5 separate regions of the Homo sapiens genome follow, and regions 2, 3, 4 and 5 are each linked to region 1. The links are contacts of gene promoters, found by promoter capture Hi-C in blood cells and fetal thymus (Javierre and others, 2016). All regions are on one chromosome and are shown on one strand. Each heading gives the region's core, a stretch centred on a gene start or on the middle of the fragment in contact. The rest is flanking DNA. Distances are from core to core; before and after follow the strand shown. Region 1 holds the start of MSL3 (MSL complex subunit 3). Region 2 overlaps HCCS-DT (HCCS divergent transcript). Region 3 has its middle 16 kb from the start of HCCS. Region 4 overlaps ARHGAP6 (Rho GTPase activating protein 6). Region 5 overlaps ARHGAP6 (Rho GTPase activating protein 6).

Region 1 (5,387 bases), core at 2,888-5,387:
GGTCTTTGGCTGGAGGGCACTGATGGCAGTATTCTGGAACGCTTTCTTCATAATATAACCACAATGTAGGTAGCTTGGTTTTTCCCTTGGAACTACATCCCTATAACATCTGAAGAATTACGAGTGGAAACCAAGAAGCAGTGAAAGTCAACTCCACTTGACCTGAGAAGCACCAACAAGGATTAAGGATTAAGAAGCATTGCAACTTTTGTAAAAGGATCACTATAACTTTTATCAGAATATTCATTAACCACAAAATTATTCTTAGGATGTAGGTCTGCATATCACCTAAGACCAAAAGAAGAAAAAAAAATCCAATTGTAAGGTCATCCAGTTCTAAGGTCAAAGTTGTAAGATCATAGATTGTTCTTAACTTTATAAATGGGTTGTTCCAGAAATTCATTTAAAGTTTGTTTCTAACCTAAAAGAGACATTCTAGTTGAAACCGTATCATAAATGGTAACTAGGTTTACCCTTCATTCCCAAAGCCTACTGAATACTGAATACATGTGAAACAATATTTCAAATGCAACATCAATTATGTCTACATGTCCATGGAAAAATGCATTCTCACCATCAGAGGTCTGTCTCATCAGTATCACCAAAATTAGCAATAGACAACATACCAGATGCCAATAACCTAACTCTACAACTGCAGGAGGGGCGTGATCAGGATGCTTTTGCTGCATGGAGGTTTATTATGTCACAGAGCAAGAAGTTTGGCGTTAGGCATCAGGATTAGTTAATTTAGTGCGTCAGGGGCTCAACAGCTCCCCAGTGACCCAGGTGAGCGAGTGCTAGCCTTGGGCTCTCATCCTCAGAGCCTCAGTGACGATGGCCAGCTCCGTGGTGCCAAGGTGGCTACAGCACTGACACCCTCTCCAACGCCGCATTCTGATGCAGATGATAACACCCAGTGAGGAAGAGGAGACTTTATGCCAGATGTATTTCTTTTGGGGGGAGGCAGGTGGAAAATATTTTCCAGAAGTACTCACAGTTCCCCATTTTAACTCGCTATGAGAATTTCTCATTGGCCAGGCGTGTATCACATGACCATACTTAAACCAGTCACTGTAAGAGGAAGGGGATTGCCGGGATTGGTTTAGACCAGTAGTTCTCAGCCCCGCCTGCACAATGGAATCGCCTGGGAACTTTGGAAACAAAATTCCAACTCCTGGCAACAGTATTTTAACAAGTTTTCAAAGTTCCCCAGCTGTTCCAAATGTATACCCAGAGGTGAGTCCTACCGTATTAGCCCGATCAAGTGTCACTCCAGCCCTGGTGAGAGGTCTGCTCTAACAATGTGGGATGGCAAACACCTGAACAAAATTGGGCCTCTGCCAGCGGGGCGGCGGGCGACGCAACTAACTGGATCCCGCACTGCACTCACCTTGCTAAGAGAAGCAATTCCTGTAGGTGACCTATAATGAGAAATCAAAAAGATTTGTTATAAGATTTAATGGTTATCTTAATCCCGACAAAAACAAGACCATTCTATAATCATGCCCGAATACAGACGAAACTACTGTCCAAACCTCAAAAACTGGAAAATGAGGAAAACACCTAAGTTGCAATTCAAGAGTGCCTTCCTCTCTGGAGCTTTTTCAGATACTCTCCCTCCTCCTAGAGAGAAGTAAGCTCTTCTGTCTCCTCTATTCCACACCAGCTTTATCAGGGTATGCACATAAAGCTTGAACTTGATTGCTTGCTGCTCCGCCCTCCTGAAATGTGCCCTCTGGGAGGACAGGGGTAATGTATGTATTCTACTTTGTGTGTCTAGCAACCAGCACACAGGAGGTCCAATAAATATTTGCTGAATGAATGAATGAATGAATGGGGGACACGGAGAAACAGATAAGAAATGCCTAATGTCAAGAGCAAATATTTACCCAGCCCTTATATGTCAGGCACTACACAAAGCCATGTACACTGAATTGACTCATTGACTCCTAAAAAACCCTATGAAGTAGGAGCCACTATTTCCTTCATTTTAAACATGAACAAAGTGCATTACAAAGAGACTAACCAGTTGTCCATGGTCACAAGCTAGAAAGTGACAAGCATGGGACTGGGTCCTGGAGAGTGGTTTGCAGAGCTGGCCATGTTCTTAACCTTTACACCCGAGAGGAAAAATGATGTCCTGCATTAAGGGTGGAGCCCTCTCTAGTGGATCCTAATCTGGAGGAGGACTGTAAGGGGTGCTGCCATTGGCAGGCTTTTTAACTTTTAGGTTCCTGAAGGCTTTTGCATTCTTGGACTTTTTAGAGGGACGGGGAAAGAGGAATTCCTCAATGACATAAGAAGGGGTGGAAATGCGGAGAAACAAAGGAAAGCATCTAAAATCCTATCCCTGAAAGGGTAGAGCCTGCAGCAGAACTCTCTCCAATCATGGGCAGGAAAAATAAAAAGGTGAATACTTCAGTTACGGTTTACACAGGACGTGCAATTACATGTGCTTCCAAGCCGCCCCTGCCATTTGTGGGGAACACCACCATCTACTGTTCTCATCTCTGATACACCACAACCTGGAGAGGAATCATGGTTCCAGTTCTAGTTTCTGCACCGTATTACCCCAAAGGCCATTTGACCATCTTCCCCCAACCTTTAACTCCTCTGTATAGCCTTATTCTGGCGGATGCAGCTATTACTCACCCAATTCCTTGGGCCAGAAAACCTGGAAGTCTCTCAAGATTCCTCCTTCCCTCTCCTTCACATCCAATTGGCCACTGAGTTTTGTGGGTTCTATTTCCTAAATCAATCTGTTCATTCATTCCATATTATGTGCCACGAATACGCCGTGATGAATTGGATAAGACCCCTACCCCCAGCTTCAAAGAGCTTACTGTCTTAATGAGGTCATTTTGCAAATGAACAACCCATTCTATAGCACAGTGGTACATGCAAGAAAGGGGTTAAGCAGAGTCCTGGGAGGGAACACCTCAGGGCTTTATGATTCATCTTGGGAAGCCTGAGGGCTTTTCTGTTGGCATGCCCACGCTGAAATGTGAAGGATGTATACCAGGAACCTGGTGAAGGAAGCGTGCAGAGGGGAAGCAAATGCAACTTTCTGGAGGCTAGAACAGAGAAGGGGAAGTTCACCAGGTCCGCAGAGATTAGCCTGGAAGCTGGTCTCCAGCCCGGTCCTAATCCAGTAATTACACTGCCCAACGGCTTTCCAAAACTCAAAAGAAAAAGCCCAGCACTGTCCTTCCTGTCCCTGGAAGTTTGTCCTTCAAGTCTCCCATCACTTGTCATTCGCTCATCAAGTATTTACTTAACATCCACTCTGTGCAGGTACCATATTGATAGCGGCCTCAAGGGTGCTTCTATTTAGGGAATTTTTAGTCTATTGGAGCAGATAGACCGTGGGGGGCATTCCGGGGATGCTGGGGGCTGTCAGGCCACGCTAGAAGCTGACACTGAAGACGTCAGCTACTCTTTAAGGACCCATCTGCCTCGCTGCCCACTGCTCAACCCGTCACTGGGGGCTCCAGGCCTGCCACCGGCTTGTCCTCTGAAGGGATAAGCAAGTGTTCTATTCACAGCCCGGAGTGCCCTTCTGCCCTCGCCCGAGGCCACTGCCCGCCTGGGGCCAGCTCCAGCGCTGCGTTCTCCAAGCGTGGCCACACTCATCGGCGCGCTGCTCTGCCAAGGGGGCTGACGCGGCGCGCACGGCCAGGGAGCTCTTGGGGGCAGACGCCGTCCAGCCTCCCGGCCGCCGGGTGCCTACTCCAGACCGGCTCTCTCTCTCCCTAGGCGCCTCCCACGCCCGGGCCGGAGAGCGGGCGCTCGGGGCGACGGACGACCCTGCGCGCACGTGGGCGCAGCCTGGAGGCCGCGGGGACCCTCTCCCATGGGGGCGACGGGAGACGTCCTGCCGGTAGACCTTGGCCAGGGGGTCGCGCTCCCCGCCCGCACCCCTCCCGGAGCCCCGGCGGGGACGTGCGGGGACGCGCCCGGGCGGGAGCGCGCGCGCCAGGCGCCTCCGAGGTCCCGGCAGCGGCTCGGGGCGGGCGGAGGAGGGGCCGAGGGCGGGGCGGCCGCAGCCTCCGCCATTCCCGGCCCCCCCCGGCCACGGCGCACCGCCTCCCCGCCCCCGCCCGCCCTCCCCCACCGCGCGCGCTCCGCCCGCCCCGGAGCCTCGCCCTCCGCCACGATGAGCAAATGAGCGCGAGCGAGGGCATGAAATTTAAATTCCACTCAGGGGAGAAAGTGCTGTGCTTCGAGCCTGACCCCACCAAGGCGCGAGTGCTGTACGATGCCAAGGTGCCGCCGCGGAGGGACAGGGAGGAGGCGCGGGCTGGGGGACCCGGGACCGGGGGCGGGGGCGGGGGCGGACGGCCGCGCGGAGCTGAGGGACCGGCCGGGCTCCTCGGCCTGCGAGGAGCGGTGCGGCCGGCAGGGGGCGCTCACAGGGCGCTACGCCCGGGAGTCGGGGCGGGGTCTGGGATGCTTCCACTTCCTTCCGTCAGGCCGGGCGGCGCACGCGCGGTTGGGAGCCTCGCCCATGCTTTGTCGCGTTACCGGGGCTACCGTTTGCGCCCCCGACTGCAACGGTGGCCGCTGAGGGAGGAGGCTTCTCGAATACGGTTTCTGTCTTCGCGTTAAATGTCTCCTTCTGTGCGGCCTGGTGCCGGGTGGGCTCCTGTGGGACGCCCTGGCCGTCCGATCCAGGTTCTAATTCATAGTTACACGGCGCTGGCCGCTGACTTGCGACGTTGTGTCCCTGGGACCCTAGTCCAGTTTAGGCCCCATCCCGCCTGTAGGCCGTGAACCCCATCCCGAGGGCAAGGTTGGCCCAGTGTTTTCGTACCCCAGGGCCTTGCAGCATTTACGTTTTCAAACTCTGAAGGATTTACGTGGGTCTGACCATAGTTGATGGGAATCGCGCCCCGGGCCGGTCCACCTAAGTCTCCGGGAGCTGAGCCACATCTTGCAGCTCCTCAGATTTGGGTGGCGGGCAGGAGTTGGCACCAGGTCTCCCAGATCCCCAAGGAAAGCACCCAGGTGCTTTCATTTCAGAGACCTGGGTTCCTAGGGCCACCTGGGCGAAGCCTTAGGCGGCAGGGACAGGGGCAGTCCCAGGTGTGTCTTTGGCGATGTCTGGACAGCTCTGTCCATTAGAGATGCTAAAGGACATCCCTAAAGGGATGAGCATATTCTGCCTTCAGTTCCCTCCCCTGCTGCTCCTGTCTTTTAACCGCGTCTGCTATCCCTCTTTCTCCTCGCCCTCCAGCCTCCTCGGGGCGGAGGGGGGGGGGCACGCCCCATCATTAGTTTTAGTTGTTCCCTCTAGGGACACAACAGGGAGGGATTCCAGAGTCTCCAGCTAGCCATCCTGGCACTGGACATAGGGGAGCCCAGGAGACTACAACTCCCAGAGCTCT
Region 2 (5,387 bases), core at 1,810-4,309, 660 kb before region 1:
CTAGGTAAGTCATCCCATCTGCACAATGGCTTCCTACAATCCTCTCAGCCTCGAAGATCAAGAACAATTGTCATTCAGACCAGAATGTCCCATGGTTTCCATTCACACCTTATCAGCAGTTGACTATAGCTATTTTTGGCCCTCGGTTTCTTGAAATTTTATTTTGTTTTGGTTTATGTTTTATGTTGCGGCATGTGTTTTATATGACTAAGATTGACTTAGAAAGCAGATCATTTGCATTAGGGAGCCTTGCAAATAATATGTAGACCTTAAGAGGTTTCTAGGGATAATTTTGGGACTTTTAGCCCCAAATGCAATTGTTGGTACTTTTCATTATTAAACAGAATGTTTCCTTTTCATTTCAGCATTCAATATTGAACTCCTGGTGCTTTCCTTATTGTAGGAATAAAAGAAGCAAGTGAATACAACTCAGGTTCCTCTTTATGGACATTTGTCAATAGAAAACAGTTCCAAGATCCTCTTTGAATTAGTAGAGGCATTTCCCAAATTATTTACACAAGAATCCAGAGCTTTTTCATTAGGCCTATGTTAGAATCTAAGGAAGCAAAACAGCAATTGGGATTAATTTTACTATTGGCTAATGGATTACTTCCTGTTTCCAGCTTGTTGATCTTCCTGTCCATACAGACAAATGATTTGCCTGGAGATTCATGCTGCTTTTGTCTGTTCAGCATCATTTCCTCTGAGGAACATCCTCTCCCCCATTTCAGGTGGTCCCAGGTGGGCTGTCAATCACAACACACCAGACCTAGCCAATCATATTGCCTCACCTCCCCAGACACAGTAATTGATTCAGGGGAAAGAATGTGACCCAGTCAGAGCAAATTCCCCCAAATGTTAAAGAAGTTAGGAGAGAGGCCTTCAAACTAAGTGGCATCAGGCCAAGAGATAGAGGCAGAATGACTGGATCCAGCCCTTCCTGAGGCTTTACCCACCCCAGACTTCCTAAGAGTGTGATCCCAAAATTTCTTTTTCTGCTTAAGTTAACTCAAGCTGGACTTCTCACTCAAAATCCAAAATGTGCTCACTAATATAACATGCTTCCAGGTTTTCTGAGTGTCCCTCAGAAACATGTGTCAGCAACTTCCAGAGGACATAGGGCACTGAGCATTGGGATCCATGGGTCCTTATCTTAGCTGCAATCTTAGAGCCCTTAGGTCATCCCTATGCCAAGTTGGAGGGCTTTTGAAATGGAGAGCCTGTTACACAGGGGATGCAACATGATTTCATGGATATATTTATGTCTTATGCACAAAAGTGCATTCTAGACTTGCTTTTTAAGTTCCATATCTCTTTGTCCCCTTTGGCCCTTCCTGGAGTGGAAGCAGGACAAATTCTTGTGCTGATGACACTTTTTTTTTTGAGATGGAGTCTCGCTCTGTCACCCAGGCTGGAGTACAGAGGTGCTATCTCAGCTCACTGCAACCTCCACCTCCTGGGTTCAAGCGAGTCTCCTACCTCAGCCTCCCGAGTAGCTGGGATTACAGGTGCATGCCACCACGCCTGGCTAATTTTTTTTTTTTTTTTTTTAGTAGAGATGGGATTTCACCATTTTGCCCAGGCTGATCTTGAACTCCTGACCTCAGGTGATCTGCCCACCTCAGCCTCCCAAAGTGCTGGGATTGCGGGCATGAGCCACCACACCCGGCTGCTGATGACACTTTATTGGCAATCTTGGGAAGGGAAAAAAGACCAAGTAGAAGTAGCAACGGGACCCCTAACATTGATATTGCCTGATGACTGGGCTGGCCAAAGTCTGGTGCCAGGACCCCTATCCTACCAGTGGTTCCAGACACCACCGAGGGAATCTGGAAGGAGAAATAAAGCCCACAACACGCCACCAAGTGGCTGCAATATTACTCTTGCAGTGAAGATACTTTTTTTTTCCTCCTTTGTTTCCATAGGGTACTTTTCTAAACCTGTCCAAAGTCCCTCTCACTAGATTCCTTAACTGTCACTTAAAGTGTTATCTATGACTCAGAATTTCCTAACATAAATTCTATAACCTCCCTCCTTTCCTCAGGAAAGTTACCAACTGAGGCCTACTCACACCAAAACTCTGATCCTAGTGGCTGTGAGATGTCTGAATGCTGTTTAAACTGTGCACTTACATGTGTTTGCAGGTAGTGATAAATAAGAACTCTTCTTTGTTGTCGTGCTTATTCACAGTTTAACTTGGCTTCCTCTGCTTCAGACAGAAGGGAACTGAAGTAAATTCTTAAGACACACAAGGAAAGAAAGTTCTTTGCGCTGAAGGCGGTTCGCCAAGGTGCTAATTCCATCTTTGGTAGGTTTCTCCCAGGACTGTGTTCCTCATCCAGGAATTTCCCTGAGCTTGATGGGTCACACGTCCAAATTCCAGCTTTGAATAAATAAACCAACTAAAGTGCTCAGTTGCCTCAGGGATTAGCAGAGCAGTTCACGAACTTCCATCGCCCCCCAGTGGCAATTAGTTGGATCTTTTTGTTAGGGATTTTCTTATGCTTAAAATTTAGGTTATCGTTCTCCCCTCCAAAGTTGTTTTAAGTTTTTGTTTGTTTGTTTGTTTAATTCTCACACTGAAGATTATAAAGTCTTTGTGTGGAGGTATGTTGGTAATGTCAAATTAATGGCTTCTGGGTCACCAGGTCATAGACGGATAAGATGTAGTATCTGCTTTCATGGTTCTAAGTAAAAGACTGATTTTCAACCTGGTCTCTATTCTGAGGCTCCATCCTGAGAGAAGGTGAAAATAAGCAGCACTAAATCACTAAATCCAGAAAGGACTCTCAGTGGGTGGCATCAAGGTAACCTAGAGAGCCAGTTAGCCTTGGTTGCATATAGATGAGAACTCAGCCACCCACAGTGATAGTATCTACTCTGAAAACAAGATATAGGCTATGTGAGATTCCAAAAATAAAAAGCAGAAACTGTGTTGAGGGAGAAAGCTTATATACATATGAAGTAGCCAAGAAACACTTTTCTAGCATAATAAATTCATAAATTCATGCAACATACAGTCAATGATTTTTGATAGCTAGCATAAAGTACTTCACCTTGTTTTATAGAAAAAGAAGAAGTGGAATTTAGGAAAGTTTAGACTGAAGAGGCTTATCTTCAACTCAAAAAAGGGAAGGTTCTTGCCTCCCTGCCCACAGTGGAGTTAGTACTTAAGCTTATTTTTCAGATCATAGTAAATTCCTTTGGTTCACCACCTGCCATGCTCCACCCCCACACCCCTTTTAAATTTAAAACCAGGTTTGTAGTCCTTTAAATAATACTGACCCAGTTCTAAATTCCTACACACCAAACAGTCCTGCCAATGCTAAATCCTGAGTAGAAGTGTTTGTCCTTCAGCTTCCTTTACTCAGAATTTGTCTCCTTTCCAGCCAGAACATTCTCCTTCCCTGGCCACCCCTCTCCCCTTGGCTTTGGAAGGCAAACTTTACCTAATCTGTTTTGTTTAAGAATCCTAAATCTTAGTGGTTTAAGGGCCTCAGTATTAGTACACACAAGCACACATATATAAATTTAAGAACAAAGAATGTTTTATTATCAGCTCATTGTATTTTGTATAATATTTGTTTAATAAATTCACCCTTAAAGTATAAGCCTCTGTCAGTTAGGCCTGGCCTCCCCATCTCCTGGACCCCAAGGTCTTATTCACTTGAATCTCCCAGTCCATGGTCCATGGAATATCAAGTTTCCCTGAGTTATATGTTACTCCTCAGGGACTTAGGCTCCTATGGTCACTTCTGCCTCTGGACTCCTCTCTCTGCTTGTGCTGGCTCAGTTTACATTGACCTAGAGGGGAAACTCTGCCCCTTTATCATCTTCTATGAAAACCCATTCACTAAATTACTTGCTGATTTTGTAAAACACTCATAACAAAATAGAGATATATGGATACTTCTTAAACATGACAAAAAACTTTATGCCAATCTAAAAGTTCGCAAAATGCTTAATGGATAGACACTAGACACTTTTCCACAAAAATTAGGAATGTCTACTGCCACTTTTATTTAACGTTTTGCTGGAAAGTCTTAGCCTATGCAGGAGAAAGAAATTAGAGGCATGAGGCCAGGCGCAGGGGCTCACGCCTGTAATCCCAGCACTTTGAGAGGCCGAGGTGGGCGGATCGCCTGAGGTCAGGAGTTTGAGACCAGCCTGGCCAACATGGTGAAACCCCATCTCTACTGAAAAAAAAAAAAAAAATACAAAAATTAGCCGGGCATGGTGGCAGGTGCCTGTAATCCTACCTACTTGGGAGGCTGAGGTAGGAGGATCACTTGAACTTGGGAGGTGGAGGTTGCAGCGAGCCGAGATCATGCCATTGCACTCCAGCCTGGGCAACAAGAGCGAGACTTCGTCTCAAAAAAAAAAAAAAAAAAACAAAAGAAATTAGAGGCATTAAAGTTGGACGGGAGGAAGTAAAATCATTATTAGTTGAGATTATATGAAATAATCCCTGGAAAATCCAAAATAAACACACAAACATTAAGACTAAAGACAAGAGAATCCAAAACATAGGAGAGTATAAAATGGATGTAGTCATTGGAGCTTGTCTTTAGTCCATTTTGTGTTACTACAACAAAATACCTGAGGCTGGGTAGTTTATAAAGAAAAGAGGTTTGTTTGGCTTAGAGTTCTATAGGCTGTTCAAGAAGCATGGAACCGGCATCTTCTCAGCTTCTGGTGAGGGCTTTCATGTTGAGTCAGCAGAGAAAGTCAAAGGCAAACCAGGCACATGTGAAGAGAGAGTAAACATGAGGGGGATCCTCACTTTGTAACAATCCTGCTCTTGCCGGAACCAATCCATTCCCGAGAATTAATCCAGTCTTGTGAGAGTGAGAACCCACTACCATTAGAAAGTCACCAAGTCATTCATGAAGGATTTACCCCATGACCCAGACATCTTCCATTAGGCCCCAGCTCCCAGCACTGCCACACTGCAGATCAAATTTCAAAATTAGCTTTGATGGGGACAAACAAGTCATATTCATACCATAGCACAGCTATACCTTATTCCTTTCACCAGGATAAGTTTCAAATATATAAATGGTTTAAAGGAAAAAGTGTAATTTTTTTAATTGAAGAAACTTGGGAGAATTTAGGACTTAAAATATTTTTAATTATGCCACAACATCCAGAAATCATAGAAGATTATAAAATTAAGATCCATAAAAACTACTCAAAGCAAAACTTAGCAGAAGCAAAAACAAAAAAAGATAATTTTAGAAAATATTCCAACCTCATAGTGTAGAAGAAAGGTTAATTTCCTTATAAAGAATGTCTACAAATCAATTTTTAAAAAAAGCAATACACTGTGTTGATGAAGGTGTGGAAAAACAGGCACTCTCATCCACTCCTGAGGGAAGCTACAAGGG
Region 3 (5,387 bases), core at 1,457-3,956, 630 kb before region 1:
TGCATCGTATAAGGAATACAAAATTGCAAAAGGTATAACCCTGATATGGTTTGGCTGTGGCCCCACCCAAATCTCACCTTGAATTTTAATAATCCCCACGTGTCAAGGGCAGGGCAAGGTGGAGATAATTAAATCATGGGGGCAGTTTCCCCTATACTGTTCTCCTGGTAGTGAATAAGTCTCAGGAGATCTGATGGTTCTTTAAATGGGAGTTCCCCGCACAACTTCTTTTGCCTGCTGCCACGTAAGACATCCCTTTGCTCTTCCTTCGCCTTTCACCATGATTGTGAGGCCTCCCCAGCCATGTGGAACTGTGAGTCCATTAAGCTTCTTTCCTTTATAAATTACCCAGTCTTGGGCATGTCCTTATTAGCAGCATGGGAACAGACTAATACCCCTACTTGCAGGGAACTCAACAATCTTATGGACAGTCTATAAATGAAATGGTGGTAAATGCTAGAACTCCAATTTAAGGAACACATTGTGGTAACACACAGTGTGAGAATTCACGTAAGTATTTTTGAATATTTAGAGATAGTTACCAATTTCTTTACTGAGTCATCATTATGGTTTATCTTCTCCCAGAGATTGCTTCTTAGGGAAAATGAAGCAATGCACATTTCCTGTCTCACCTTTGCAGTGACTGTCAGAATTGTATGACCCGTCATTTGTGTCACCATAGGCTTGAGGCTGTGTGTGTGATGATTACAAATGTGTGTCCTGGAGGCAGAGTCCTTGCCCTGCCCTTTAGTCGCTGTGTGATCTTAATGTCTCTGGGCCTCAGCTTTCTCGGCTATGAAATGAGAGTAATAGAACCAACTTATCAGAGTTGTTTTGCAGGTACTTTGAGGTGATGCCTAAAAGCGCTGGGAACAGAGTCTGTGGGTGGAAATGTTCAGCAAATATTAGCTATCACCATTGATCAACAACAGCAAGGAGAGAAATCAAAGTGCTGAGATATAATCTACTTCTCTCATCCTCTGGCCTTATTCCCCGCCCCACTCCGCCACCAGGAGAATCAGTTTAGAGGGGTAACAGCAGGCTCTAATCCCCATTTTGATCAATTTTAAGGATTACCAGGTGTTTGGGTGCTTGCTCTAAGAAAGCTCATGTTATTTAAAATCATCAAATGGAAAAAGAACAGGTTACAGCCTTTGATCTTTCAAAAAATATCAGGGTAACAAATTAGGTACTTGATATGCAAGTCCCACTTGACAAAAAGAAATATTATATTAAGACAGATACCCAAGCTGGAGTGCACTGGCATGATCTCGGCTCAATGCAACCTCTACCTCCTGGGTTCAAGTGATTCTTGTGCCTCAGCCTCCTGAGAAGCTGGGATTACAGGTGCCTACCACCACACTCAGCGAATTTTTTTGTATTTTTAGTAGAGATGGGGTTTCACCATGTTGGTCAGGCTGGTCTTGAACTTCTGACCTCAAGTGATCCACCCACCTCGGCCTCCCAAAGTGCTGCGATTCTTGTGCTTCTTAATCTAAAATATAGCTCACTGTAATGTCCTTTGGGTCACAAGGTTATCCCCCTCTGTGAAAATATATTACATATCCGGATTCAAAACATATTACAAGGTTGTTTACTGCAAAGAAAAAGATCAAAAATTATTTCAAAAGCCATGTATATTCCTTGTAACTTAAGGTAACATTTAAAAAATTATATAATTTGGGGGGTATATAGTATATCAAAATGAAGCATATGAATTATGCCTTGCGCCACTCATGACAAATAATATCACGTTTTCATTTATAAGTGGGAGCTAAATGATAAGAACACAGAGGGGAACAGCACACACTGGGGCCTATTGGAGGGTGGAGGGTGGGAGGAGGGAGTGGCTTAGGAAAAACAGCTAATGGGTACTAGGCTTCATACCTGGGTGACAAAATAATCTGTACAACAAACCCCCATGACACAAGTTTACCTATGTAACAAGTGTGCACATGTGCCTCTGAACTTTAAAAAGAAAAACATTTACTGCTGCAGTAGAGATTGTCACTGTACCTTCAGTAAAATTTCATGCCATTGGTGTAAGTGGTAAAGTGTCTATTTCATGCTTGTGCACTCTCTAGTTTGGAAGAAAAAGCTGACAACACTTTCTGCAAATGATTCAACCGGAGGTTTATACATCACATTGCAAGTATTCTAATGTTTTTGTGGAATCATACCAGATGCAGGAGCAAACATAGTTCCTAAGACTGGTTTAGGGAATGAGGCATGTACATATGGGTGCTATCTTGTATTTATAATTAGCTTTTCATTGATGCTTTTACACACCAAAGGTCATATGTGATAGGGGCACAGAAATAATACATCTTGAGTGTTGTAACAGAGGAATTGTGAGACAAGTCTTCACAATCATAGACGAGTGAAGTCCTAAAGAACAATGAAAAGTTACTATTTTGAAAGTTACTATTTTGGAGCTCTGTGCAGAATCATCATTTAAACACTTTGCTATTCCTTCTACATTTGGGATAACAATGTGACTAATTCCCGTGCCCCTTCAATGGTTTGCTATAGAATATTATCAGGATGCTTTTGGCTTCTAGTAAGTGAATCCCTGCTTGAACTCACAGCCAGAAGTGCAGAGGTTGGGTGTACACTTGGTTGATCCTGCTTCTCTGGACTCCCTTTCCTTCCATGTTCAATTTTAACTTCATCCATGTAGGGCTGGTTCCTTTCATCAGCGTCAATGCTTCCTAGTTGCTTTGAGATCCTTGTTTATGGTCAGTAGATATGAGGTGGGGTGGGACCCGGCCATCTACCACAACCATGGGAAATAAGGTTTCTCTTCAGTCTAATTGGGCCAATTCAGCACTGGGCCTGTGTCCTACCACCCCTCCCATTTTATGTTCCTGTGCGTGCTTCATGCTTAGATTAGCTCAGACAAATCATCAGGAGGACATGTAGTGACCACAAGAGGATTCCTTCACTGCTGATTTAAAATCCCATTCTTAGACATCATTTCATTAAGGTCTTTTTCCTTCATCTGAACCTTTTTAAAAATTTTTTTCTGAGACAGAGCCTCACTGTAGTGCCCAGTCTGGAGTGCAGTGGTGCGATCTTGACTCACTGCAGCCTCTACCTCCCAGGTTCAAGTGATCTTCCCATCTCAGCCTACTTAGTAGCTGGGACCACAGGCACATGCCACCACGCCCAGCTAATTTTTGTATTTTTTGTAGAGACAGCATTTCACCATGTTGCCCAGGCTGGTCTTGAACTCCTGAACTCAAGTGATCTGCCTGCCTCAGCTTCCCAAAGTGCTGAGATTATAGGCTTAGGCCACCAAGCCCAGCCTGAGCCCTTTTCTTATGCCAGGGTTTTAAATCTGGAGGTGGTAGCTAACGTAATGGCATAAAACAAGATTTGAGAGCTTTGTTTCTGCACTGATTCCCTGTGTTAAGCTGGGAGATTTGGGACAAGCCACCTTAGGCCTGTAAGTCTCAATTTCCTGAAATTATCTTAAAGGCTCCTTTCATACCAAAATGTTTGTGGCCTCATATTACAATGGGCTGAATTATGTCATCTTTCAGGTTGAGAATCTTTAAGTTAAGGGAAAACAATGTGGTTTGAAACCCTATTTCAAACTAGTTTTTATATAAACTACATCAGTAGACACACTCTTAAAAGACCTACACTTAAGCGAATTCCAAGTTAACCAGTGCTTTCCTTTCCCTCTATAAAATGTGCTGGCTTGGAAACAATTCAAACATTCACCAATTAGTAAATGGATAAATACATGTTGGTATATCCATGCAATGGAATATTATTCACCCATAAAAATAAATGAAGTACTGATAAATGCTACAATATGGATGAACCCTAAAAACATTGTGCTCAAAGAGGCCAGAAACAAAAGGCCACTTTCGTATGATTCCATTTATTTGAAACCCTCAGAATAGGCAAATTTATAGGGGCAGAAAGCAGATTCGTGGTTGTCAGGGCTGGTGGAGGAGGAATGGGGAGTGACTGCTAATGGACGTGGGAGTTTCTTTTGGGGGTGATTAAAAAATGCTCTAAAATTGATGGTTGCACAACTCTGTGACTATACTAGAAACCATTGAACTGTATACTTTAAATGAGTGAATTGTGTGGTTTGTAATTATAGCTGTTTTTAAAAATGAAAAAGAAATAGCCGGGCGCGGTGGCTCATGCCTGTAATCCCAGCACTTTGGGAGGCTGAGACGGGCGGATCACGAGGTCAGGAGATCGAGACCATCCTGGCTAACACGGTGAAACCCCGTCTCTACTAAAAATACAAAAATTAGCCAGGCATGTTGGCGTGCGCCTGTAGTCCCAGCTACACGGGAGGCTGAGGCAGGAGAATGGTGTGAACCCGGGAGGCGGAGCTTGCAGTGAGTCGAGATCGCGCCACTGCACTCCAGCCTGGGCGACAGAGCGAAACTCCGTCTCAAAAAAAAAAAAAAAAAAAAAAAGAAATAAAAACGTGCTGGTTGATCCCTACAGCCAGGAGGTCCCCATCCTCCTAGTTGAGCAGCCGGCTTAGCATGAGCCAGTAACGTAATTATTTTAATTAACCAAAACAACAGACAATGCAATGTAAATGCATAAGCCAAGTATATAAAGACTAATGAATGATAAGGAAGGCTTTGAAGGAGAATCCCAAAAAATGTTGCCATGAAACTGGAAGGGGTTTAGAAAATATCATAAAAATCAGAATAATTTTTCACTCACTGCTTTGTAGTCGTTTCTTAAATTTGCTGTTAAAAAAAAAAAAAGCCCTGGAACTGGAAGAATAGATGATGCACAGTGGATGTGGTTCATCCACTGTGCATTAGTAAGAAGGATGAAGTGGCACTGCTGACCCACCGCACCCAGAGATGCAAAAGGCCTTGGCTCCTTGTTGAAAGATTAGTAAATGATGTACATTTATGCTTTCAGGTAAAATGTAACATGTGATCATTTTATGATTTCTAGTTTCAGCTGGATTTTTTTAAAAGTATGATTTGACATTGTTCAGGCCAAGCATTGCCTTAGAACAGCATTTTGGATCTTGCTGCCTTTCCCCTTCCACCTCTCTCCCTTTTGTGGTTTCCCCAGCAAGATGCTTTTCAAGCTTTTGTGTACTATGTATCAGAATCCCCTAGAGGGCTTGTTAAAACGCAGATGGCTGGGCCCCCACCCAGAATTCCTGATCCTGTATGCCTGGGGCGGCTGAGAATTCTTGTTTCTAACGAGCTCCCAGGAGATGCTGATGCTGCTGGGCCAGGGGGCCCAATTTGAGCTTCACTTTCCTCTGGCATCTTTTGAATCCTTTGAGCTTCCATCCACCCCCATCTTTGTGATGCATTTACAGTTGCCTCATAGTCACATAGCCGTGGGTCGAAGTTCCCATGCAGAAGATGCAAAAGCAA
Region 4 (5,387 bases), core at 1,226-3,725, 610 kb before region 1:
CAATTACAGGTGCGTGAGTTTGTTAACAAGTAGTGACCAGATTTAAACAATATGGCTATTACACAAATGACTGGAGGAGTATGCGTGGACACGGGCTGAAACAAAAAGACCATTTTGAGCAATGTTCCAAGACATGTACATCCATGACGTGAAAGGGTTTCAACGATATGACCAGCAGAGGGCAGTAAAACCCAACAGATATAACAGGAAAAGGCAATGATGGAGAAGGCACGGTGAGAATGAAACCGACAAGGAGCCCTGCATTTGCCAATGGGCATCGCTAAGTGCCTCAGGGACTCATTCCTGCTTCCATTTTTAAGTGAAAGTCTGATGCTCACTATCTATTAGGTAAGGATACACTAGTAGATAACTCTTTCACTTTCCTCAATATCCTGCATTAAAAATAATTCAGATAAAACTATGGTTGACACTTTGCTTGAAGTTCATTATGGCTTTCTGGACAACTTTTCCATCCCACCAAAATACTTACTGTACTTAGTGTAAATAAATCCATCCTTCATGTGATAAAGATGTTGATGCCACCGGTGGGAATAAGTGTTTCATGTATAAAGTAGTGACAAAAACAATAAATATATGACCCTCACTAGACTCCATTTTATTCAAATACATCTAAAATGATTCTACAAGGCACTAGTGCTTTTACAAACTGATATGATGTACTAATTAGTATACCATTATCATAGTTCTGTGTTCATGAGTTGTCACAGAAACAGAAATAACAGTGAAAATGTATGTGGAACAGAAAAATGAGAACTTGAGCAACGTGAAAAGAGCATGGGAAGTCTTACCTGGAAACATCTTTCTTTTCTACCCTCCTCAAAACTGGCCCTGACAACATCTTGAAGGGAAACAATCACAGATTGATTAAAAGTTCCAGAACCTACATCTTTTCCCCCTTACTTCACTTCTCTTTACTAGTCTTTGCTCTCTTTTGGCTTAATTTTTCAAAACAAATCCTTTTTATTTCTTAAAGAAGGTAAACACATGCCTGAACAACACTTTCCTAACCAAATGGTTTTGTGCATGCAAACTGGAGGAAGTGCATTCACAGGGATCTAGCTTCCTCTGAGGTTTCCAGCAGGGGTTAATATCGCCGGGAAAAACATCCCAGCTTCTGTGATACTGCCACAGCCGTAACTGAGGCAAACACGGGCCTGAACCCTTTTGCTGAGGACATTTCCTACCAACATGGAATAAAGAAGCCCCTTCCTTGCCTCCTCTTTGAACTCTCATCACGTAATCTTATGGGAAGGAGCCAGAGGACTGCTATGAGGATGATTTTCCAGGTCTGCAAGATCTCATTGAGTGGTTGTGAAGTGCATCCCAGGGTGGCTGCATCTGTCTCACCTGGGAACTTGTTGGCAATGCCAATTCTACAGCTCCATTCTGGACCTACTGACAGGACTGGCTACACCATTTGTGGAGCCCAGTGCAAAATGAACATGTGATGCCCCGTGTTTAAAAAGCGTTAAGCATTTCAAGATGGCCACTGCAAATCAGTAAACCAAATGTGGGCTTCTTCTGAGTGTGGAGTCACAGCCCTGAAAGTCAGCTCTGCCTATTAAAAGGGAAACTCAGGGTGGGGCCAGCAAATTTTTTAAAGAATCCCTCCAGGTGATTCTGATGCACGGGGATGTTTGGGAACCTCTAATAACCAAACCTTATTTTCCTCTCTCAATCTGTAGATGTGACAGTGGGCTAAAGGTCTGCTAAGAGCCAAATCAGGAGGGAAACCAAAGATGGTAGCCAAAACTGCAGCATTGGCTGCCCTGGGAGTGAATGTGGTGGTCCTGACCTTGGGGTGACTGAGGCCACAGTTAGGAGAAGGAGGAAGGGTGTCCCCATCCCAGCCGATTCCTGGACCTCCTCTGTCTGCCTTAAGCAGGATCCAGACAACTGAATGTAGTGTAGTCCCATTGTGGATCAGAACATTTTGAAGTGAAAGGGGGGTAGGAAGTACCAGTGTAGTGTTCTCTGCTCTTCTGGTTCAGTCTCCTAAGTCAAGCCGGCAAAGTGACCACAGCTGGGCCCTCCATCAGGGAGGAAACAGTGGGGGTGGCTGAAGCGAATCCCTGGAGGTAGAGGTAGATGAGGTGTCTCATAGTAGACACAGGCTCTGAACCTCCTTGGGATGGCTGGGGTCACAGCCAGGGACATAGACAGAGGGGGCATCCAATGAGAGACGATGTCTTCTTTTCACAGTTTCCCCACCCCCCAGTGTATCCCAGCCATGGGAGGAGATACAGTGTGAGTACACATGGCAAGCAGTTTGGGAAATATACTTATGTGAAATATCCCCTTGGCCTGTGAGGAGAGTAAAAGTTAATATTTATACAGAGTTAATTATGTGGCAGGCACTGTACTAAGCTACTGTTAACAACTCTCCTTTTTCCTGACCTGAGTCTGGGATTGAGTGAAAGAAACAAGGAGCTGACTGAATGCTGAATACCATGCTCTCTAGCAGCAGAGGCAGTTAGGGTTGGGATTCTTCTAGAATTTATTTGGTAGATAGTGTTCAACATTATTACAAATCAGTAGTAAAATGCTCTTTCTTACTTAGAGTTAATAGCCTTTTAAAATGTTTAAAATATTTCCCTATCATTTTATTGTCTTAGCAGAGGTCAGGAAGTGGCAGCCAAATTTGCCTAAGAACCTATGTCCAAGAATTATCTTCTCACATGAAAGCACACCGATTAAAAAAAAAAGCTGTTTTATTCACTCCTCAGAACTCTCATAACAACATAGGCAGTTCATAGATTTTTTAAAAAAATAGTGTCATTCTATTGTTTTATATCTGTCAGAAGCAAATCCAGGATCAACATATATACACATACTCACATATACATACATACCCAACACACACGCACATACATATACATATTCAGACATAAACACATACATATACATGCATCAACATATGAACACATACATATACATGCATCAACATATGCACACATATACATATTCATAAACACATATACACACACACAAATATGACATAGACATGTACACATATACACAGACACATATTACATATACACATAAATGCAACTATATACACATGCATATACACATACACCCACTTAGGTGATACAATTGGAAGTAAAGACACAGAACAGAGAGAGAGTAGGATTGCTGAATGGAGGCTGGAGTCCGGAGAAATTTCCAGAGACTTGGAAGCAGAATTGTGAGGGCCTTTCAGAGCATGTCTCTCCTGTAATGGGGGCTGGGCATCCAGTCATTGTGGATACCTTCATTACACACCTGTGCTTCCTGTGTCTGTCCATTTTCCATTTTCCACTTCTAAATCTTTCTATTCTATCCCAGTTTCTGAAACATTTCTAAGTTTATGGAAGCTATTGTAAAAGCAGCTTGTCAAATTTATAAATCAGGTAAAATCTATAAAGTTCTGTAAGATTTTCCATATAAAAATCACAAATCAAAAAACAAATTCTTATAATCCAGAAATTCTGCAAGAAGACAGGGTGTGAATAAATCCGGGTGTAGTGTAGTGGAAATGTGGATGGTAAAAGTTTATAGGAAAGGAAATTTCTCTGACCCTGAAACCTAGAGATAAAAGTGAGAAAAGAAAGAAAAACTACCTTTCAGGCTACAACTGTCAGAGAAGTGGTTGTCTGCCAGGACCAGGGTGCCTGATGGTGGCTAAAACCCATCATTGTGAGTCAGCTCTGGGAGCTTCTTGAGTGGGCATTACCTTCCTACAAACCAGTTCCAATTGGCAGCACTCTAATTTCTGAACACTGGTGGAGAAATGGGCCCAGGAGGGGAGGTTTTAGTGATTTTCCACAGGACACTCAGTGTCAAATCTAGAAAACCATACCATCTTTTGGATATGTCCGAAAAATGAGATAAGCAACCACAATGTTTTCTCTCAGATTTGACTCTAGGATAATCCAACCCTAAGAAGATAGTTTTGAGTTCAGGGTCCCAAATAAAGGCATTAAAATACTCATGTATCTATTTACATGAAATTTTTACTCTGATCAGTGATTCACTAGATGAGGAATAGTCTAAAAGCACATAGTGACATCTCTTTGTATGTCTTGGAGTTTGATGGATTGAGGTTCAGAATGTTGGGTGAATGAGTTGCCAGTTGACATAAGTTGGCATCCAAAAGTGCCTGGTGGCTTCTCTTTCCAGTCTCAGAGCATCATGGATTGAGGTTGGGTGGACAGGTCACCAGTCTACATGGGTTTGCCTCCATGCATGGAGGGTTTCCCCGTTAGACCCCCAAACCCCAGGACCATCTACATACAGCATGCATGGCCAATCTCAGCTAACCAGACAAGCAAGGGATGGGCATGGAGAGCGAGTCACATTCTCACCCTTAGCTGGTCCCTCCAGGTCAGGGCGTAAACATGCTGGCAGGGTACTGTGGGCAGGCCTGCACTGCAGCCGGAAGCACAGAACTTGTTCTGGGGACAAATGGAAAACTCCGGTTCAATCACCGGATGGGGCCCGCCCAGCACCTTGCTGAGCTACCCCAGCAAGAAGAACTGTGGAGGTTTCAAATGTGTGTTGGCTTCATCCTTGGCTTAATCATATGACTGATAAGTTCCAGTCTGTTGGAACTGAAAGCATTGTATCATCCATCTTGGATTATATCAATGGTACTGGGAAAGGAATCCACTGCTGGAGCAGCTTTGGAATCATGAAGAATGTGCACATTAATCACCATCAGTTCTACAAAGCCTCCCTTTGACAGATTGCTAGGGATAAAGGTACCCCACTTCAAAGAGGAACTGACATGGCTCTAAACTCTCCACTGGATGATGAAGCTAACACCCTGGGCATAAGCCTTTGGTGAAATTTTTCCCCTCATTTTTAGTCCTTATTAATTCCCTCCTAATGTCTCTGGCAAATGGAGCACTTATGACAGGTGAAGATCAGACAGTGTTGTTTTCATTATTTACAGAGGGCCTGATAAAAACATCTTCAAATTAACATTCTGCAAATTTATAAAGAAGCTGTGAATCATAGTGAAGGTGTGAGGAAGGAAGGGGTAATGTGATACATTCTCCCTCCATCTTGAATGCCTTTCCATAGAAGGCATATATGCACACATTTTAGAATTTTTCATTATGGAATTCTCTATTCCACATAAGCTTTTTCTAAAACTATCTGGCTGGAAAGACTTTCTTGAATGGAGTATGTGTGTTGGGGGAGGGGGGCAGGGGCAGTTAATGCTTCATAATTTCCAGGGTATTGAGGCCAACAGCTACCGCCACTCAATAGGACTCTTTGCTGTTACATTGTACTGGTAAAGTTAGATTTCTTGTCTGAAAATTTCCTGAAACCCTTTCTGATATGAAAAATCCTAGTAAAAGAAAAACAGAAATTATAAT
Region 5 (5,387 bases), core at 1,872-4,371, 590 kb before region 1:
GAACACACTGGCTTTCCCACGTCTCCACTGCACTCCGGACTTTTCATCAGCTTACAAGGGTGGTGTCTTCTCTTTCTTGCCCCTCTCCTAAGAAGAAGTCCTAGTAAGAATCGTTTAATATCAGCCCTTAGAAGAAGCTGACAGTTTTCTCCATTCTGCTCTGAAGTTCTTACTAATCCCAAGAGCAATGATGAGTTTTCTCTGGAATTCCCAATATTAGTTACAGAAGTAACAACTTTCAGAACAATTCATGTATCAATGACTTAGTCAGTGAGAACTTTCTGGTTAGGATAATACCAATGACTTTGTGTAGATATTAATGATTCTTATCCTTGATTTCCAGTGCTCCCACAGAGTATCATTTTATGTTAGCCAGTTTTTCAACAGGTGTTGATATCAGAAGTGGAGGGTCATGATTTAAAGGTAAGGGAATATAAGCAGTATGGACACTGGACAAAATCGAAACAAAAATACATTTTTTTTCTAGTAATACAGAATTGCAATATTTATTCAACAAATAATTACTGAGCACCCATCTTTTGCCATATACTTTCTAGGTGGTATGAATGTCAGTGAACAGAACAAACAAAAATCTCTGCCTTTATAAGGTTTGTATTCTGTTAGGTTTCAATAAGCATAAAAATAAGTAAATTATATAGTGGGTTAAAAGGTAATAAATGCTATGGAATAAAAAGAGCAGAGTAAGGGCCTAGGAGTATATATGTGTGGGATCAGGTCACAGCATTATACACAGTGGGCAGAGTGGGCTTGATTTCCAAGAAAACACCCAAACACGCTTTGATAGAGCAGGCACCTTATCCCTTTAATGTAATAATAGCAGAAATCTTCCTTTAATGCCTAATATATGTTAATTCTGTTCTAGGTGCCTTAAAATGTCATTTCTAATTCTTATAACAGTCCTGTAAATTAGGTCACATTGTTTCATCTTTTGGCTAGGGAAGTTAACTGTGGGGCCCAAGATTACATAGCAAATAAGTGGCTGAGCAGGGATTTGAATTTTGGTAGCTCATTCCAATGCACATGGTCTTTCTACCATACCAGTGTTTCCCAAGATATGGTTTCCAAAGGTGTGGTTAGGAAACTACCAGAACTCTGTGGAGGTCTTCACTAGAAAGTGCAGATTATTTCTGGGCCCCATCCCAGTGCTACTCAATCTGATTCTCGGGAGTGCATCCTAGGAATCTGAATGTCTAAGTTTCCTTGCAACTCTGCTGCACACTCAAGTTTGAGAACCACCATTATAATCTACTGCCTTCGTATTTTGATATCTGTGGTCATGATATCTGCTATTATGATCTATTTCCAGCTCAAGGATTTCCAAACCAGTACCTGAAAAGCAAACAACCAATGCAAAAGACTGTCCTAGCCAGACTCTTAAATTGTGTGTCAACCTCTGCATCTAGGTTCCTCTTCTGTATTACAGGACGAAGCCAGGTTCTTTTCCGCCCTTTCCCATTAACTCAGAGAGTGGCCACTTGGGAGAGGCAGTCTCAGCATCAGGAAATGAAGGATGTTAGAACACCCAGAACAAATTTTGGGTCCCTGCCAGGCCTCTGTGAGCTTCTACATCCCTTCCACCAGTTATTTTATGGAATCACTGCCTCCAGGTCTGTTCTGCCTTCCAGGACAAGCTCACAGCTACCTTTCCTAACAAGTCTTCCTTTCTAATGCTAATAGAAGTGACACCTCCCTTTCCGAGCTCTTAAACCCAAGGACTGTGAAACTGCACAATTACTAACTACTTTTAACCATCAGGCCCTGACTAGCTTCATCCTTCTTTGTTTGGAATTATAATAATTCTGAAAGCTTCTTTAAAAAGCCAAACAAAACAAAACAACATAGCGACATACAAGATTACATTTTTGTCCACCCATGCAGATCAGCTTTGCTGACAAACCACCAGCCTTGGTATAGCCGACTAGTTTCTCAACTGCCAAATATGCCAAGATAATCTAAAATGTGATGAGATTAATTTTCTCCTGTGCTTTATAAAAAGGAAGGAAGGGAAGTCAGTGCTAGGGCATAGCACCATGCAGATTTTACAACTAGAAGGGGTCTTGGCTATCATTCATTCAAATCTAGTATTTGATAACTAAAGAAATAGAAGAAGATGAGGTCATGTAGCCAATATATAACAGGGACAGGACGATAGTAAATTTTCTGGTTCCAGAGTCAGTTTCTTTTCATAGACCAAGACTTGAGATATTTGTCTCCCTCTTCCTCCCACTCCACTGTTATTTTTCTGAATATATGATTACCAGAATCCTTCTAAAGAGGTCAAGAATGATTACATTAATGGTTAACTTACTCCAAGAAAGGTATCCTTAATTTCTCCATGCCCAAATCTTTTCATACGTATAAGGAGTAAGGCTTGGTAATATGGAAATCATATGTCACAGAACAACCATTGAGTCATTCATTAATTCAACCAATATTTATTGTGTTCCTACCATGTCCCAGGCACAGGGGTAATGCAGTAAAGAAAGTACTATAGATAGAAATGGACCAAAAAAATCATCCTGTCATGTAGTTTACATTTCTAGGGAGTGGCGAACATAAACGAGAAATTTGTAAGACCCAATGTTAACAGTGGTGAGTGCTAAGGGGAAAAAGCAGGGAAAGGAAATAGGGAGTGATGATGTGTGTGTGTGTGTGATGGAGGGTGGAGGTGCATTTTAGACAAGGTGGCCAGGAAAGGCCTCTATGAGAAGTAAAGACTATAACTGGAGACCAAAAATATGAGAGAATGCCGACATCAATCCCTACAGAGAATGGCAAACAAAGATCAGATTTGGGAAAAGCTGGAAAAGGTAGAATACTGATGTTTTTATACTGTTCTTAGTAATTCAGGTGGCAGGAAATGGAAAGAAGAGGGATGGCACAATTAAAATGGCAGCAGCTATATTTTCAAAGAAGCCAGGAAAACTTTTGTTGGTATCTGAGTTGAAAAGAAATGCTCGATGATATGTGGTTTCATATAAAGGAGAACTTTGCTTAGATAATAGAATTAAGTTTGATGAGAAGTATTATTTTGTTAAAAAAATCCAGAGAACATGAAGTAATGCCAAGACTACTTGGCAAGATGATATGTGACTTAAACTTGATGAAAATGTTGAAAAGTTCAGACATTTGATTCATCCAAATATGTAGTTAATTATGAGGATTTAGGCTGATGTGTAAATTTTATATAGAGTCAATTATTAATTCAACATTTTTTGAGAGCTTAGCATGTGCAACCCAGGGACAGTGCTTCAGAGACACAAACAGGAACAAGATGCCATTCTACCTCAGTGAACTTTTCATTTGCTCTTCCTCCTGGGGATCCAACCAGGATACATTTTCAAGCCTCGCTTGAAGTTAAGTGTGGCTTGTGCATAAGTTCTGGCCAATGAGATTTGAGTGGACAAGATGGATGACCTTTCTGGGGTTGCCCGTAAAACTCTAAAAAATGTCAGAGCCTCAAAATACAAGGAGCTGGGATTCCTAAATCACCACCTGGAAGGCTGTCCACTTAACACCTGATTAAACTTTATGTCAGAGTGATATTTATGTTTGTGTTAAAGTACTGACTTTTGAGGCAGCACGTGTTACCCAACTAATATAATTACTAATTAACAGTTGCATAAACTGCTACAGTTTGCACAATACTTTCACGTATCAAATGATTCTGGTCACCACCCTGAGAATTACATCATCATTTTGTTTTTCCCATTTCTAAAGCTAGAATTGATGCATAATGAGTATTGAATTACTTGGTCACAATCACATAGGTAAGACACAGAGGGCAAATACTCTAAACTGCTGGGTCTCAAATTTACAAAAAGTAATTAGTATAAGACAAGCATGGACATAAATCTAATGCAAAGCACTTGATAAGTGTAGACAAACTACTAAAGAAATTTAAAAGAGGTAACTAGAATTCTCGGTTGAAGGAAGGAGCCACAAAAGGCTCTAGTGGAATAGGCAGGCTTTATAGCGTTTGCAAATTGACAAGAGAAATGGGAGAAAAAACATGAAGAAGGTTCCTGTAAATTTTGACATGCAATATTAGTGGTGAACAGAAATAGAAGAGAGTTGGCATTTGTTTTAATGTTTCAAGGGAAGTTGTAGCAAGCAATGCAGTTTGATGAAGGAAAACAGGAACTGGTAATTCAATACAAATCAAAAAAATATTTATTGAGTGCCTGCCAGATGGAGGGCTTTCCAAAAGTGTACAGAGGATATGGAGAGGAGATAACAATGGTGCAGTCCTTGTTTTAAATGCATTTATACTCTACTAGGGGAAATGGTCATAAATTACTATACACAATGTTGGGCAAGATAAACATCAGTAAGAACAGTAATGGAGTTCAGGGGACAGAGAAGTGGCATGGGAAGGACAAAGGAAGGAGAGGTGAAGCTTCATGTAGGAGGTAAAATGTCAAGATTGACCTTGGAGGAGGTGAAACCACTGAGGATGCTTATGAATACATGAATTCATGAGGGACACAATTCCATAAAGAAGGGTTTTATTAATGTCTTGAGCAAGGACACTGCTTTATAATTAAGTGACTCCAAAATGTGACCATGGTTTAGAGGACAACAAAATGAAAATTATAATTTGGCATGTTTGTTTAAACATGGAGTCACAAACTCAAAATGACATCATAGTTGTGCAAATTTCTACTCCTGCTGAAACTGCCTGACTTCCAATGAATTCAGTGAGCAGCACTGCACCCCAGAGGGTGGTCTACTAGAATTTCATCCTGCCTCCAGAGGAAACCAATAGGCAGTTTGCTGTGATGTCCTGCCACAGAAGGGCCACCTACCATGAACAGGGCTTCATAATTTTCAATCATCTTTTGCACAACAGCGATGATGGCCGTGCTCTCCTCAGCCCGGGCTGAACTCTGAACTGAGAATTCTTTGTCTGATGACTTCTGCTTGTGCAGCAGGTTGGGTCCAAATATGGTGGCTAAGTTTAGAGATGTCATTTTATTCCCAGTGACCTATAAGAGAACAGAACACAAGGACTGTTGTTATGTTTGCCTTTCAAGATACTGGGTGATTCAACAATCAATGAAACCTTTTACTCTCCTTTTTTTTTTTTAATCCTGCAAGGATGCCATCCTCTCTGTCAGAATCCATGGAGGGCATCATTATTTTCCTTTTGCTTTAATATCTTGGATTGAAGCTCACAGTTCAGTGATCATCTCAATAGCATATTGAATAAAAATTTGCAACTCTAAGTTGTTTATTGTAAAATGGGTACTACATAAAATTTCTATCCTGTTTGCACTTAAGAAATATTGACACCCATCCATCCATCTATCCATTTCTCCATCCATCCCTTCATTCATCAACCCATAATCTCACCACTGATCCAT

The links. The method cuts DNA at HindIII sites, captures the fragments that hold promoters and counts their contacts. A CHiCAGO score of 5 or more calls a contact.
Region 2: a fragment that was not itself captured here is called in contact with the fragment with the promoter of MSL3 in region 1 in 2 of 17 cell types (neutrophils and M2 macrophages); the score reaches 6.8 in neutrophils.
Region 3: a contact is called between a fragment that was not itself captured here and the fragment with the promoter of MSL3 in region 1, in 6 of 17 cell types (monocytes, M0 macrophages, M2 macrophages and 3 more). The highest score is 9.6, in monocytes.
Region 4: a fragment that was not itself captured here is called in contact with the fragment with the promoter of MSL3 in region 1 in 10 of 17 cell types (neutrophils, total B cells, M2 macrophages and 7 more); the score reaches 16.8 in neutrophils.
Region 5: a contact is called between a fragment that was not itself captured here and the fragment with the promoter of MSL3 in region 1, in 1 of 17 cell types (M0 macrophages). The highest score is 5.6, in M0 macrophages.

What each region holds. Positions count from the first base shown.
Region 1 is chrX:11,754,100-11,759,486 of GRCh38, forward strand. It overlaps MSL3 (MSL complex subunit 3), which reads left to right and starts at 4,138. Exons shown (of 13, transcript NM_078629.4): 1 at 4,138-4,266. The coding sequence starts at 4,165. MSL3-DT (MSL3 divergent transcript) reads right to left here and starts at 3,984. Exons shown (of 2, transcript XR_007068393.1): 1 at 2,653-3,984; 2 at 1-1,421. RefSeq lists silencers at 3,678-3,877, 3,898-4,047, 4,058-4,437 and an enhancer at 4,291-4,585. The HindIII fragment of the contact is 7,532 bases long and covers 1,689-5,387 here.
Region 2 is chrX:11,098,499-11,103,885 of GRCh38, forward strand. The region is part of intron 2 of HCCS-DT (HCCS divergent transcript); the gene reads right to left. Among named protein-coding and RNA genes, the nearest start is that of HCCS-DT, 9.9 kb to the right of the region's middle. RefSeq lists an enhancer at 4,606-4,805. The HindIII fragment of the contact is 227 bases long and covers 2,947-3,173 here.
Region 3 is chrX:11,124,563-11,129,949 of GRCh38, forward strand. No RefSeq gene overlaps it. Among named protein-coding and RNA genes, the nearest start is that of HCCS, 16 kb to the left of the region's middle. The HindIII fragment of the contact is 4,762 bases long and covers 326-5,087 here.
Region 4 is chrX:11,144,263-11,149,649 of GRCh38, forward strand. All of the region lies in intron 10 of ARHGAP6 (Rho GTPase activating protein 6), which reads right to left. Among named protein-coding and RNA genes, the nearest start is that of HCCS, 36 kb to the left of the region's middle. The HindIII fragment of the contact is 5,339 bases long and covers 1-5,145 here.
Region 5 is chrX:11,164,676-11,170,062 of GRCh38, forward strand. It overlaps ARHGAP6 (Rho GTPase activating protein 6), which reads right to left. Exons shown (of 13, transcript NM_013427.3): 9 at 4,830-5,009. Among named protein-coding and RNA genes, the nearest start is that of HCCS, 56 kb to the left of the region's middle. The HindIII fragment of the contact is 2,593 bases long and covers 1,826-4,418 here.